2 separate regions of the Homo sapiens genome follow, and region 2 is linked to region 1. Evidence: promoter capture Hi-C in human tissues and cell types (Jung and others, 2019). All regions are on one chromosome and are shown on one strand. The core of a region is centred on a gene start or on the middle of the fragment in contact, and the rest is flanking DNA. Distances in the headings are between cores, read along the strand shown. Region 1 holds the start of NBEA (neurobeachin). Region 2 has its middle 130 kb from the start of LINC02343.

The links. Contacts are between HindIII fragments. The study calls those that stand out against the background at their distance.
Region 2: a fragment that was not itself captured here is called in contact with the fragment with the promoter of NBEA in region 1 in 1 of the 25 tissues and cell types used here (dorsolateral prefrontal cortex).

The regions. Positions count from the first base shown.
Region 1 is chr13:34,938,788-34,945,525 of GRCh38, reverse strand. NBEA (neurobeachin) reads right to left here and starts at 3,256. Exons shown (of 59, transcript NM_001385012.1): 1 at 2,412-3,256. The coding sequence starts at 2,705. LOC124903231 (a long non-coding RNA gene) reads left to right here and starts at 3,336. Exons shown (of 2, transcript XR_007063908.1): 1 at 3,336-3,386; 2 at 3,824-4,205. RefSeq lists silencers at 1,616-1,705, 2,765-2,884, 3,325-3,394 and an enhancer at 3,565-3,674. The HindIII fragment of the contact is 6,257 bases long and covers 929-6,738 here.
Region 2 is chr13:34,212,680-34,219,306 of GRCh38, reverse strand. No RefSeq gene overlaps it. Among named protein-coding and RNA genes, the nearest start is that of LINC02343, 130 kb to the left of the region's middle. The HindIII fragment of the contact is 4,892 bases long and covers 1,012-5,903 here.

The sequences.
Region 1 (6,738 bases), core at 2,007-4,506:
AGTCACTGAGTGTCCTATATGAATTTTATTGGTTTACTTACTAAATAAATAGAATTAAGTTTGATAATCAGTTTTTTAAATGCCCATGACTTCCACATATTTTTGAGAATCCACTTAAATTTTCATATGACATTTTCATGAGTGTATTGGACAATAAAGCCCTAAATCTACAGTTCAAGAAAATTACACTTCAAATGACTAATTTATACTCCACAATTAATATAATTAACAACTTAGTAATAAACAGCTCCTTTTGTCATTTATTCTTTTCTCCAAAAGTTTCTATTTAAAAATCTATTGCATTCTTTAAATACATACAAAGAAATTTTAAACCTAACTCTTTAAATTCCAAATATCATTGCAGTTACAAAATCTTAGGTAGATTTGGGGATATACTATCTCAGTATTACTTTATTTCTAGTGACTCTAAGCTTAATGGTAAAGTTCTCTAAAATAACGTCTGCATACTGAAACTTCATGTCAGATTTTCATTGCTCTGAAGAGTTAAATTTCTTTTTTATCTCAAGAGAAACATTTCACTTCCTTTCTTAGTCTACCGTATATCTAAAAAACCCCATCTGTTAAGAACTGATTCAGCACACATTGCTACTGCTGCAGAGTCCAAACTGGTTATACATTCAAATCAGTTTCCAGGTTGTGAAAGCTCTACTGCCTCTTACCAGGTTAAAATGTATTAAGTAAGCATAGGAATACTTACTAAAATAGCCTAATATAATCTAACTTAAAAATGATATTGGTTAGATCAAAACTGCAACTAAAAATGTGTTCCTTTAAATTACAGAAATACAGTTACCTGCTAACATACTAACAGTTTGAGATTTATCTTCTTTTAAAAAGAAATGGCAAGTACTGACCTCTTATTTGCAGCTAGTTAAAATTAAAACTCAAGAAAACTGTATTTCTAGTAGTGTTCTGAAAAGAACTTGGTTATATCAACTTAGTGACATTCCCTCAAACTTACACTGACTTTTCATGATGATTTATTTGAAAGGTACAAAAAAGTAAAAAGAGGTGTTTTGTTTTAAACAGCAATGAATATAACAAAGACAGATAATCTCCTTTGACCTGACACACTAGCAAAAGGAAAAAAACAGCTTCAACTTTTCTGTGCATTTACGAGGTTCATAAACCGTAGACATTATCTAATGCATGTCTCAGGACACCACTGATGTAGCTGCAGCTTTCTCTCAGTTTTCCAATAGAGTAAGTAAAAATAATTGCTTAGCTGAAAAATGACTGCATGGGTGTTACAAAGTACCCCTGTAAGCATATTGTTATATTCCTGTGACCCCACACCAAATACAATACTCAACTGATTGCTCTCGATTTATGTCTTGCCTCCCAAAGCCCAACCTTACAGTATGTCAAAGACTAGATCTATTGCAGAGAAAACTGTTTAAAAAGCTTGGCTGCATTTAAAAACAAAACAAAACAAAACAAAACCTCCATTTACAAAGCACTAAATATGAACTACTGTTAATTATCCTCAATGTATGATTCTCCTCTCCTTCTTTCCATTTCTTTCCCTGACATCTTAAACGCTTCTGAGCCTCTCTGTAGATAGCGCAAAACATTAAGTCATACACACTTCTGCAGTAACTCTTTCTTACCATGAAAGGAACCAAAACCTAGGGCTGCGTTTAAAACCTTTCCTTTAGTCTTTACCCACATGCCACACTACTGAAAGTAACCACAGAAATCAACCTGTGTGATTTGGTGTCCTCACACACCTTGTGTGCACAAAAAATGACTAAGAGATCAGTATATTCAGGGCAATATTACAAAGAAGGGACGGCTGCTTCTGAGATGGAGGGGGATGGATACAGACACAACACTCTCCATCATGGCCTTGGAATATTTAAAGACAGATGCAAAACTGCATCATTTTCTGTCTCCTTCGAAAACATCACACCCCAGCTGCTCAAGTTGGAAGCTAATGCGCTTCTCACATTTCAGCAGCACGGGGGAATTTAGGCTCCAGGGGCAAGGCTGTCATCCTCGGAGAGCGACACCAAGGACAATTAAGTGTGAGAAAAAGAACCCCAGAGAACAGGAGGCCTCCTCACCTCCTAACTAAACTCTAAAGTCGACCCAAAACCTTCACCGCGGGTACTGGGTTACTCGCGGTCCTAAAAAGTGAGAAGAAGCGGTGTTAAGTTGGGCACTGCGCTCAGGTGGCAGGAGAGGACCAGAAAGAGGAGAGGAGGGAGGTGGCGTGGCTCTAGCAGCGCGCAGGCAGGTCACCCGCTGGGCAATACCGGCTGAACGCTCTGCGCTCCCAGGGACGCGCGGCGCGTGTGACCCTGGGGGTGAAGGGTGGGAGGGAAAGGCGCTGGGGACGGTGTATGTGGGGACTGGGGAAGCAGATTGAGAGCACGCCTTTTCCTTACCAGGTTGAGCACCGTCTCCACGATGTCCCTGTTGCTGACCTCTCCGACCTGTATGAGTCCAATCAACACTGCGAATTTCATCCGGATGTTGCGGATCGGCACCGAAGGGTTAATCATCCCCGCGGGGAGCATCACCGAGCCGGAGCCGGACGCCCCCCTTAGCTCCCCCATCCCGCTGCCCCCGGTGCCGCCACCACCGCTGCCCCCGCCGCCTCCGCCAGCGGCCCCGACGGCAATGAGCCCCACGGGCTGAGGCTCGAGCCCCGGGCCCGGGCCCGGCTTCTCGCTAGCCATTGGCCCCCCTCCTGAGGAGAAGGGAAGAGCAGCGGCGCTGCCGCCGCCGGTACCGTTATACCTGCCTCGGCCCCCGCCCCCCGGCCGTCGCCTCGGAGCCCCAGCATCCACCAGCGCCGCGGCGCCGGGCCCGCTCCCCGCCTGCGCCTCAGCCCGGCCCGCTCCGGCGCTCTCCCCCGCGGAGGCGGCGGGGGATCCGCAGGCTTATTCTCGGCGGTGGCGGTACCGCTAACCGCTGCCGGGCAAGCGGCTGTGCCCGCCCAGCAGGTGTGCCGCTGCCGCTGCCGCTGCCGCCGCCGCTGCCTCTGCTCTCTCCCTCTCCCGGTCTGTCCGGCCCGGCCCGCCCCCCGCGGAGATGCTGCAGCCGCTCCGAGAAGCCCGAGGACGCGAGCAGCTGGCCACGACGCTGGCCGGTGCTGAAGCTCAGGCTGTGGCCGATGCTATTGACGCTGCTGCCGCCGCTGCTACGGCCACCACTGTTGTTGTGAAGCCCCGACGCCGCCGCTCACTCCGCCATGTTGCCGCCCCCTGCCTGCGGTAGCAGCCACTGCGCCTGCGCACAGCCTCCGGGGGGGCGGAGCCCTCGGTGCACCCCCTCTTTTGCCCTGCCCTCCTTCTCTTCCCACCCACCCACCCCGACACCCCTCGTCCCTCCCCCAACCACCCCGAACGGATAGACAGGTGAGCAGGTGCATGGGGACTGCTGCCAGACACTGGGGCAAGCTGGCAGAGGCGGGGCGGGTAGTGGCTTCCTTGTGGTTTTTCCCTTGAGGGCGGATTCTCCCTTTGGGGAAGGACACAGTGTGCATGTCTTGCCTTCGCTGCCACCTCCTCCTTCTCTCAATATCCTCTTGCTGGGAGGAGGTTCCTCATCTCAGTTGTTGCATCCAGCTGCTGCTACTGCCAGTGCCACGTGCCTTGTAAGGTAGGGGAGTGGCAGACGACCTCTTTCTGCCCCTCCTCGCCCTTCCTCGCAGTCCTGTCCGCCTGCCCTCCCTAGAATTTCCCAAAGAAAAAGTGGCTGGCAAAGCAGAAACAAACGCGCGGGGGGGCGGGGGGGCGATCCTGCATTGTCGGGGGAAGAATACAGACGGAGTGTAATGGTGCTTTTTCTACAGCCATGAAAGAGGCTGACACCTGCACACTCAGGCACGACTTAAAATAGAACTTGTCAAACAGTGATCCTCTCTGGATCAAGCTCGGAACAACAAACAGCTCTTGAACTCGCCTCCCAGCCTAAAAAGACTGCAGTGTGTGACACTGTGGGGTAGTTTGGTGGGAACGACAAATCCCACACTTTCAAAATCCTGACAATCCTCAGGTATGATGCCAATTATTAATGTTTCCTTTTTTCACAGGCACGTACAATTCAGAGGACTTTCGAAATTATCTAAAAACATGGGTGATTCTCACTGCCAGCCTTGTCTGTGAGAAAAGTACATATCTATGTCTGCACAGATACGAGACAAAAAATAAACCTTTAATTTTTAAAAATTAAAATGTACACAGTAATCTTGCTGTTAGTATTGAATTAAAACTAAATAGGCATGACTGTTCCTTGAAAGGAATGATATAATTTTCTTTAATATTTCATGAGGTCTTCCCTTTTCAATAAAGATTATTGCAAGTCACCAGAAATATTAGGTATCTTGAGGTATATTCAGATCGTTTTAATTGTCCTCTCAAATGAAAAAGGTCAATATACAAATCCACCATAATCAGTTTTGTTATTATTCATATTTAATTGGACCTGCCAGTCAAGTTAACTCCCAGGATATGGGAACACGGTAAAATTCTAAGTACCACAGGTTATAAAAAAGTTCCTCAAAACCAGTACTTAGGATGAATTCTTGGTTGCATGTCTGTTTGTTTAAACTTGCACCAAAGTGATTGAATTGTTAAAGTAGTTAAGCAAACACTTCTGAAAGCAGTGGTAACTAGCATGTCCATTTAAATTAAATGGCAATTGAATTATAAAATGCTAGAATGCTTGAAACTGTACGGGAAATTTACAAAACATACAAGTCATAATAGTATGACTTGAGATATACTATATAATTGAAAAATCCTGTAACGTTTATATCCTTCTACTACATTTTTGTCTGTCCCAAGTGAGTATCATCTGCTTTTAAGAGTACTGTTTCATTTGCAAATTTAAAATGATATCTTTGTAAAATACATAAATCTAGACTGAAAGGTTGTCACACTAAGTTTTTTTACCCACTGTGCATATATCTATATGGCAGCAGGTTCTACCTTTTGCTATTTTTAGACTTCTTGCATGAGTACTTTGAGAGACAGTGACAACCTGAACTTTCTATTTCCTTTCTGAATGAATAGCTTAACATCATTTTTAACATTTCCATTTTGATTTTTCTTGTATTTTTTCTTAAGTAGTATGTATATGCAGTTGGTTGTATTTTTCTGCTCATTTTTCTTAGTGAAGATAGTGAGTGGGTAAAGATAATATCACCATTTCTAAGTAGGAAAACTCCACTTCTTTTGCCTACTTAATTCAATTTCAGAGATATTTAAAAGAGCTTACCAATTAAAAATCTTTCTCCAGTAGACAATCAGCTCCTCGCAGGCGCTATGATACTGTGGAAAGTGCATGATTCTTTGAGTCATAGTTACAACTTACTACCTTTGCAGTCTACTCAAGCTATTTGAGTTTCAGTCTCCTGGTTCCTTAAGTAGGAATGATAATATGTGTTTCATAGGGAAGTAAGAATTCCATAAAATAATTTCAGCTGAGCAGCTAGCATATAGTCAATGTGTCTTTGTGTCCTTAGTATACAGGCATGTGTGTTGCATGACCTATAAACACATGTAATACCAATTATAACCACATACAAGTCTGCATAATTGCACAGTTATATGTCTTCCATACCATCCCAAAAGCATAAAGTTCAGAAAAGTCAACAGGTCTATTTCTTTTTGGCCTACAAAACCTTTTCCCGGAAAATGTGCAAATAACTTTACATTTACATTAACAATATTTTGAAAGAAAAGCTACATAATAATAGAAGATACCCAATATGTATATTTTTAAATCTCCAGATTAAAAAATATATTTTATGTGGTGAATATTAATTTTGTATGCATTTTTGCATACCCATACTTCCTAAGGACAATCATTCAAAGATAAGAAACCTGTGAATCTGAGTTTCAGGAAGCAATATTGCAGAGAGGTTGAGAAGTCATGCCCCAGATTCAATGGAAGCTGGATTTAGATTCTAGTTCCACCACCACTTATATGTGTGATGTTGGGAAAATGACTTTAGCTTCAAAGCTTCAGTTTACTCAACCCAAAGTAAGGATGATAATACTACTTTATAGGATTAAAGGAGCTAATACATTTAACGTACTTAATGTAGTAGTAAGTGGCAATCAATAATGTTTCCCTTCATTGGCTGCCGGAAAATACCCACAGTTATTTTGTGTCATTATTTTTGGGTTTTTTTTTTTTTTGCACCTACCTTGCCTGACATAATTTACATTGAATAAATATGTTCAAAAATGAATGGATGGAAACAGCCGTTCTCCACACTATTCCCGTTTCCTTCACCTGTTCTTTAAAGAACACATTTCTTGCTTTCCTCTAAACTTTATCTGAACAGAATACTCCAAATTCAATGTGGGTTTAGACCTGTATAAAACAGAGGGAAATTCTTACCTCACCCTCAACCTTTAGCAATATAGCTCCTGTTAATGTTGCCCCAAATCAAATTAGATCTGTTTGGTTTGTTTTGGTTTTGGATTTTTTTCTTAACATGACACTAATGATTCGTGTAATGTAGTAATGATTCACATTTGGCACGTAGTAGGTTCTCAAATAATTTTGGTTCCATTCTCCTCTCATATTGAAATTATTATCACCATTAAATTAGTTACAGATCTGCCCATTCTTCCTGGTAATAGGTCTCGCATTCATCCCACTTTTTTCATCCTCACTGCAGCCACCCTGATTCAGATCCCAGTCACTTCATACCTGGTCTCCTCTTTTCCACACTCACTCTTCTCCAGTCCATCC
Region 2 (6,627 bases), core at 2,208-4,707, 730 kb after region 1:
CCTCACTTATCTCTCAAAGTAGACTTTGTAGTCTGTGGGAAGAACAACTGCCTCTTCCCACAAAATACCTCTTGGTCCACTCTTAGTCCATGGGACTTCCCATGGTTTGAATGTGTCCCCCGAAAGCTCATGTGTTGGAAATTTACTTGCCATTATAACAGTATTAAGAGATGAGGCCTTTAAGAAATGATTAGGTCATAAGAGCTCCATTCTCATGGAGTAATTAAAGACATCATTGCCATACTGGGCTAGTTATCATAGGAGTGGACTCTTGATAAAAGGATGAGTTTGACACCATTTTCTGTCTGTGTCTCAAGCTTGCTTGCCTTGTGATGCCTTCCACAGTGGGATGACCCTGGCCAGGTGCTGGCATTATGCTCTTGGACTTCACAGTCTCCAGAGCCATATGCCAAATACACTTCTGATCTTTATAAATTACCCAGTCTGTGGTATTCTATTATAGCAGCAGAAAACAGACTAAGAGAGGACTAGTCACTATACTTGGCTGCATGGCTATTAATATGATTGTAGAAATGAACTCAGGTAATGGCGACAAAGCTGAAAAAATCTGGTAAAAGTTATTATAATTAGTTTTTTCTCATGCCTAGAAAAGTCTTTTGGGTATCAGAGGCCCATAACAATGTTATTTTAACTTGTTAGTTTGACAGGAGTGGGATCCCCTTTGAAACTTAAAAGTCAGTCCCTTGAAAACTCATCGACATGTAATTTATCTGAAAGAAACTATCAAAGTAGAGCAATGAATATGGGGCATATATGGAGCATATATGGATATGAATATAGGAATTTGGAGTTTAATGGTAATTTTGTTACATTATCACACAACTTATGAAAGAAAAATCGTAGAAGGAAATAAAAAAGTAATAAAAAAAATCAAAGCTGGAATAAAAGGTTTCAAAAAGCTCCCAGAAAGCATAAGAACAAAATTCTTTCTCTCTATACAAGTCTGATAAGTACTAAAAGCTGGGATTCACTACTGCTCTGATAATAATAAATTTTATTTATGTTGAAAATAAAAAATAAGCAGGCCTGTAATTTAAGTTGTGCAGAGACATAAAGAATGTCATTTCTCACTGGAACATTCTAGGAAAGAAAGACTGACTGACAGCTAATAAAACTATACCTTAATTTGTCAGACTTTTAAAATCATTTCTGTATTACATAAAACAGGCTAATTCTAAATGCTTACATTTTCGGGATCACACAGAATTCCTGGAACAATTAATTTACAGAGGAGAGAAACAGGATTTTTATTCATATAAATAACTCGAATTGACACTGGCCTTTTTACCTAAAGGAGTTATTGAAATGGCTAGAAATGGAAGACTCAACTGATTAAAGCCTCTCCATCTTTGTCACTCTGTGCCAACCAGCGGTGGTGCGCTCAACAGAATTCGGAAGGAGAGAGAACAGCATATGGCAGAATGAGTTTTGAGCCCCATAGAAATTTGCCTCCATTCCCACTCCATCTGTGCATTGTGTGGGATCTCTCCCCATCGCATAAAGATGCTGAGCTAAAGACAGTAGAAATGTACGATGGGAAAATGCAGAAACAGCTTTCATGTCATGCTAAGCATTAACAAAACACTTCCGTTCCACAGTACACATCTTAAACTGAGAAAGATGAGTAGTGTTAAGTTTATCTGAGGGCACTCAGTGATTCTTCGAGTTCAGTGCACAAAGAAAGCTTCCTGGATGGAGGCAATGTGAGCTGATTGCTGGAATATGTCAATGTTTGGCTTTGGGGTCTGGGGAAGGATGTGTTGTGCAAATCATTGGCCTCCTGGGAAACAAGAAATACATTCAGGCGGCCAGCGAGTCCCAAGAGGACTCACGGTAGGCAAACAGTTTGGGTATTTCTCATGTGCACCTCAACGCAAACAATTTTGCTAACAGAAGCTGAAAAAAAGAAAAATGAAGCCAGTAATTTGTGTTTTATTATTAGTTTTTTTGTGTGTTTTATTATTAATCAGTAGCCATTGTTTCTTAAAATTTGTAGGGAAACCTAGAAACACATTCCATCCATTACTCTCTCTGTACCTATCCCCTTTCCACAAATTATGTTGAGGGCTCTGATTCCCTCCCCATCTTGATTAGGGGAGCCACTGTCCTGTGCCTGTGCTTCCAGCACAAAATAGACATGGGCCAAGGACAGGGAACAGGACAGGAGGCAGGATCTGGGGAGATGCCATGCCCATTGCAACCGTTCACCTCCCTTTTCCTCTCTCTCCTCTGTTAGACACACATACACACACACACACACACACACACACACACACACACCAAGGAGCATTCTTCAGCCATTGATGTAGGACAACTTCGTGCTGCCTCCATCAGAATCTACTCCTAATGCTGGAAGGCCTGATTAAAACTCCAAATTGATCAAGAATTCTTGCTTAGTTTTCAAGCTAGAAATCCTGTTTAGTTAGAACATAGTTAACTCTAACCGAATGCATCCTTTTTACTGTTATAATAGAGAGCCTTTGGGTGTTTCAGTGAATGCTACACAGGATACAATTAATGGAAGGGCATAGTTTGTGCCCCCTGCGCCCTCTTGGCCATGTTGTATTAGAAGTCACTAAACCTTTTGATTTGCCTTATTTATTTTTCTGAAGCATGCTCAATACATTTTTCCTATTTATTTCTGAAGAATTTCAGAGAAATAAACTGGTAAAAAGAACATTGGAATGATTTCCAAATATTTGGGAAATATTTTACATATTTCCAAAATACATTTGTCTAGACTCACATACCGATTTCCTAACTTGGCTGTAATTTTACGTATGTAAAGCGATGAGAAAAATTCTCTAGATTGTAACCAAAGGCAATATCCATGGCATGATATGCAGGAAATCCTCAGGAGATCTGGGGTGAAGGAAAGAATCTTTGTTCTCAGACCATGGCCCAGCCATATGCTTGCCTCCTTCCCAAGCTGTGGTGATATGGTTTGGCTGTGTCCCCACCCAAATCTCACCTTGAGTTGTAGCTCCCATAATTCCCACGTGTCATGGGAGGGACCTGGTGGGAGATAACTGAATCATGGGGGTGGTTTCCCACATACTGTTCTCGTGGTAGTGAATAAGTCTCATGAGATCTGATGGTTTTATACATGGGAGGACCCCTGCACACGCCCTCTTGCCTGCTGCCAGTAAGACATGACTTTGCTCCTGCTTTGCCATCCACAATGATTGTGAGGCCTCCCCAGCTATGTGAAAATGGGAATCAATTAAACCTCTTTCCTTTATAAATTACCCAGTCTCAGGTATATCTTTATTAGCAGCCTGAGAACAGACTAAAACATGTGGCATAGAATAAAGATGGAATTTCAAAACTTAAACTTCTGTGCAGGGCCATTGAAAACTTACCCAGGTGGAGAAAGAAGTGAAGTTTTTGCTTTAGTGAGCTGAGGCATAACTCAGGGAGACCTGGAAAGAAAGGCAAGGCCTGTACACATGCTGGAGACAAGTGGGCAGTGCCTGTACATCACCATGACTGCCATCCCACCCTGAGACGCTTGCAGGCAGGTCACCAGGACCACGGTTATTCTTAGAGTTAATATGTGTAGTTGAAAGTCCATGGAGTTTGAAATCAGGTAAACCTAGGTTGAAATCTCAACTCTGCTACTGACTATCTGAGTGAACTTGTATAAGTTGAAGCCTCTCTGAGTGTTAATTGTATCTTGGGGTAGCAGAACCCTTATTCCATGAAAATATAAAAGAGAGAGAAGAAAATCAGTCCCAGGTAGTTCACATAAGTGGGCATCTCTTCCACTGGAATAAAAAAGTAGAAGCAAGTACTACACTAAGTATCAAGACACCTTGCCACTAAACATGGCAGTCCTGAAGGAGCAAGTCACTCCAGCTCTCTAGATTTCCACTTCACCATCTAAAAAACAATCAACCCTATGATCCTATGGATGAAACACCTCCACTCCACACAGAGTCTTTGTATGTTAGTGGCAAAAAGGTCTTTGAATGTTAAAACATACTTCAGTGTTAGCATTTATTCCTGGTCTTTCACTTTGGTTTGAGCCTGGAGAGGGGAGTAAGGGCTGTTGTAGAGGGAGGGTTTTCTTATCTATGGAAGAGGAGCACAATCTCATTTTCTGTTTAGCAAAAGAAGAGTGGGATTGCTAAGCCATGGATTCCGGTCATCCCTGAGCTCTCCTGCCTTGGGAACATTGTTCATTAGAGTTCAGTAAGGTGGCCCAATATCACTACGCTTCAGAAGTACGTCATGATAAATAGTGCCACCTGCAGCATCTTTATTTAGCCTTGGGGACTTTTCATATTAAAACTCTTATAGAGTGACATAGTTAGAATATTTGTTAGTGACATTTCTCCTGAAAGCTTGGATAATGCATATGCTTACAGAAGAACAAATGAAAGCAGAAGGCTGGTGAGTCAGCAGTATCCCTTAACAATGTACTGTGTGACTTTGCAGAAGCTCATAGGAGTAGTTTTCTTTCTATGGAACTTCTTTGCTTTTCCTTGATCATTGTACTCTATTAAATCAGAACATTGTACTCTATTAAATCAGAACCCAAGGGTATAGTAATTAATCCTTCAAAGACAAGGGACCTTTCACAATATTATAATCCATTTCTTACTTTTGTACATAATTCATTCCTGAAAATATGTATATATGAATGTTGAATATAAAAAGTAGATATTCTCATGAGTGGTGTTTCCGTACCTGTAACTCTAAAAATATAAGAAAATCCCCAAATGTCATGCAATATTACATGATTATTTAAAATATAACTAATAAATCAAACGTTAACATCCAACAACATAAATTCACTTCCCAAAGTTAATAAGAGGTGAGATTTAGGAAACATACCAGCCCTCATTTTGCCAGAATAATGAATACATTTTTTTATGCTGAAAAATGTTGCTAAAGAAGGTTGAATACTGGTTTTATATTTTGTATCAAGCAGAATCTTGATCAACATTTCAATGGAAATTTACTCTGTGTCTGGATCATAGAAATTTTATATAGCTTGGTTTTAACTTATCATTTTTATGACATTTGATAATGTTTCCACAATCATATGTTTCATGTGTGTCTTTTAGGTTTTGTGAGTTCTCTTCACTGAAGAACAACTGGTCAGGTAGTTGAACTCAAATGAACACTGACTCTAAACATGGGCTACTCTCAGTATCCCCTGATGACTCCTCTTCTGGAATAGTACCAACCTGAGAGAGTCCCTGTTAAATCTTTAGGAATTATGTGACCTGATTGATATCACAATGACAACTTGAAATCAACCATGGTGATAATATTTACACCATGGGAGCTGGTAAATACTACAAATCAAGGTGTCCTTCCCATCCTCAGAGAATTGCTTGTTGAGCATTTACCCACATACCACTGGTAAGTCCATTTATCAGACACAACTAGGATTAGGGACTGGTCTGTTAATAAATACAGTTGATTAAAGTGGTGAAAAATAGCTTGAAACGAAAACCTACATTAACTTGCCAATCTTTTGGTATAGAGCCAAGGCTTTTCGTTGAATGAATTCACTTTGTTCCTAAATCATATCTATATTGCACCCCCACCCCAACCATTTCCAGTTTCTGTTTCTTTAAAGAGCAGCAGGAACTTAAAAATACTTGTGAAGGAAACTGCATGCCAAATACTTCTAGATTATCTTTCCAGTTTTTTACAGTTGTGTCACTTTCACCTAATTTGATATTATTTTAGTGACTTGTCTATATTCTTTTCAAAATATTCCATTTATTTGTTATACAAATAATACTATTTTAACACTAACAGATTACAAATTGCATAATATTTGATTAAATTATGTAATTATAATGATAAGGAACATTGACATAAATAGGTTTGTGAACAAACACCACTGATTCTTGATATGCAGAATTTTAGATATAGCACAGGCCAGCCTCAGCCCTAAACATCAGTCATCACATCAGTCATTACAATTCCAGGCAGCATAGAGAGTGATGATTAATCCCATTAATTAATTAAGCAGAGTTTAGTTGAAATTTCTACTGTATTATCATTATAAGCATTTTATTTTTCTGGTATTTAATCACTTAAAAAATAAAAACGACAAACATAAAATATATTTGAAATATTGTATACAAAATGACATATTTAAAAAGCCTTGGCCGGGCGCGGTGGCTCAAGCCTGTAATCCCAGCACTTTGGGAGGTCGAGGTGGGTGGATCACGAGGTCAGGAGATCGAGACCATCCTGGCTAACACGGTGAAACCCCGTCTCTACTAAAAATACAAAAAAATTAGCCGGGCGTGGTGGTGGGCGCCTATAGTCCCAGCTACTCGGGAAGCTGAGGCAGGAGAATGGCGTGAACCTGGGAGGCGGAGCTTGCAGTGAGCTGAGATCGCGCCACTGCACTCCAGCCTGGGCGACAGAGCGAGACTCCGTCTCAATAAAATAAGTAAATAAATAAATAAATAATAAAATAAAATAAAAAGCCTTATACGAACACTGATATAATCAAATTGAATCAAAGGCCACAAGATAACATGAAGTGTTTGTTATTTGATTCAAAGAAGCCAGAGTCTGACATAAAAAAGGCCAGAAATTGGCATAGGAAATACAAATTATGAGTGTCGAGGT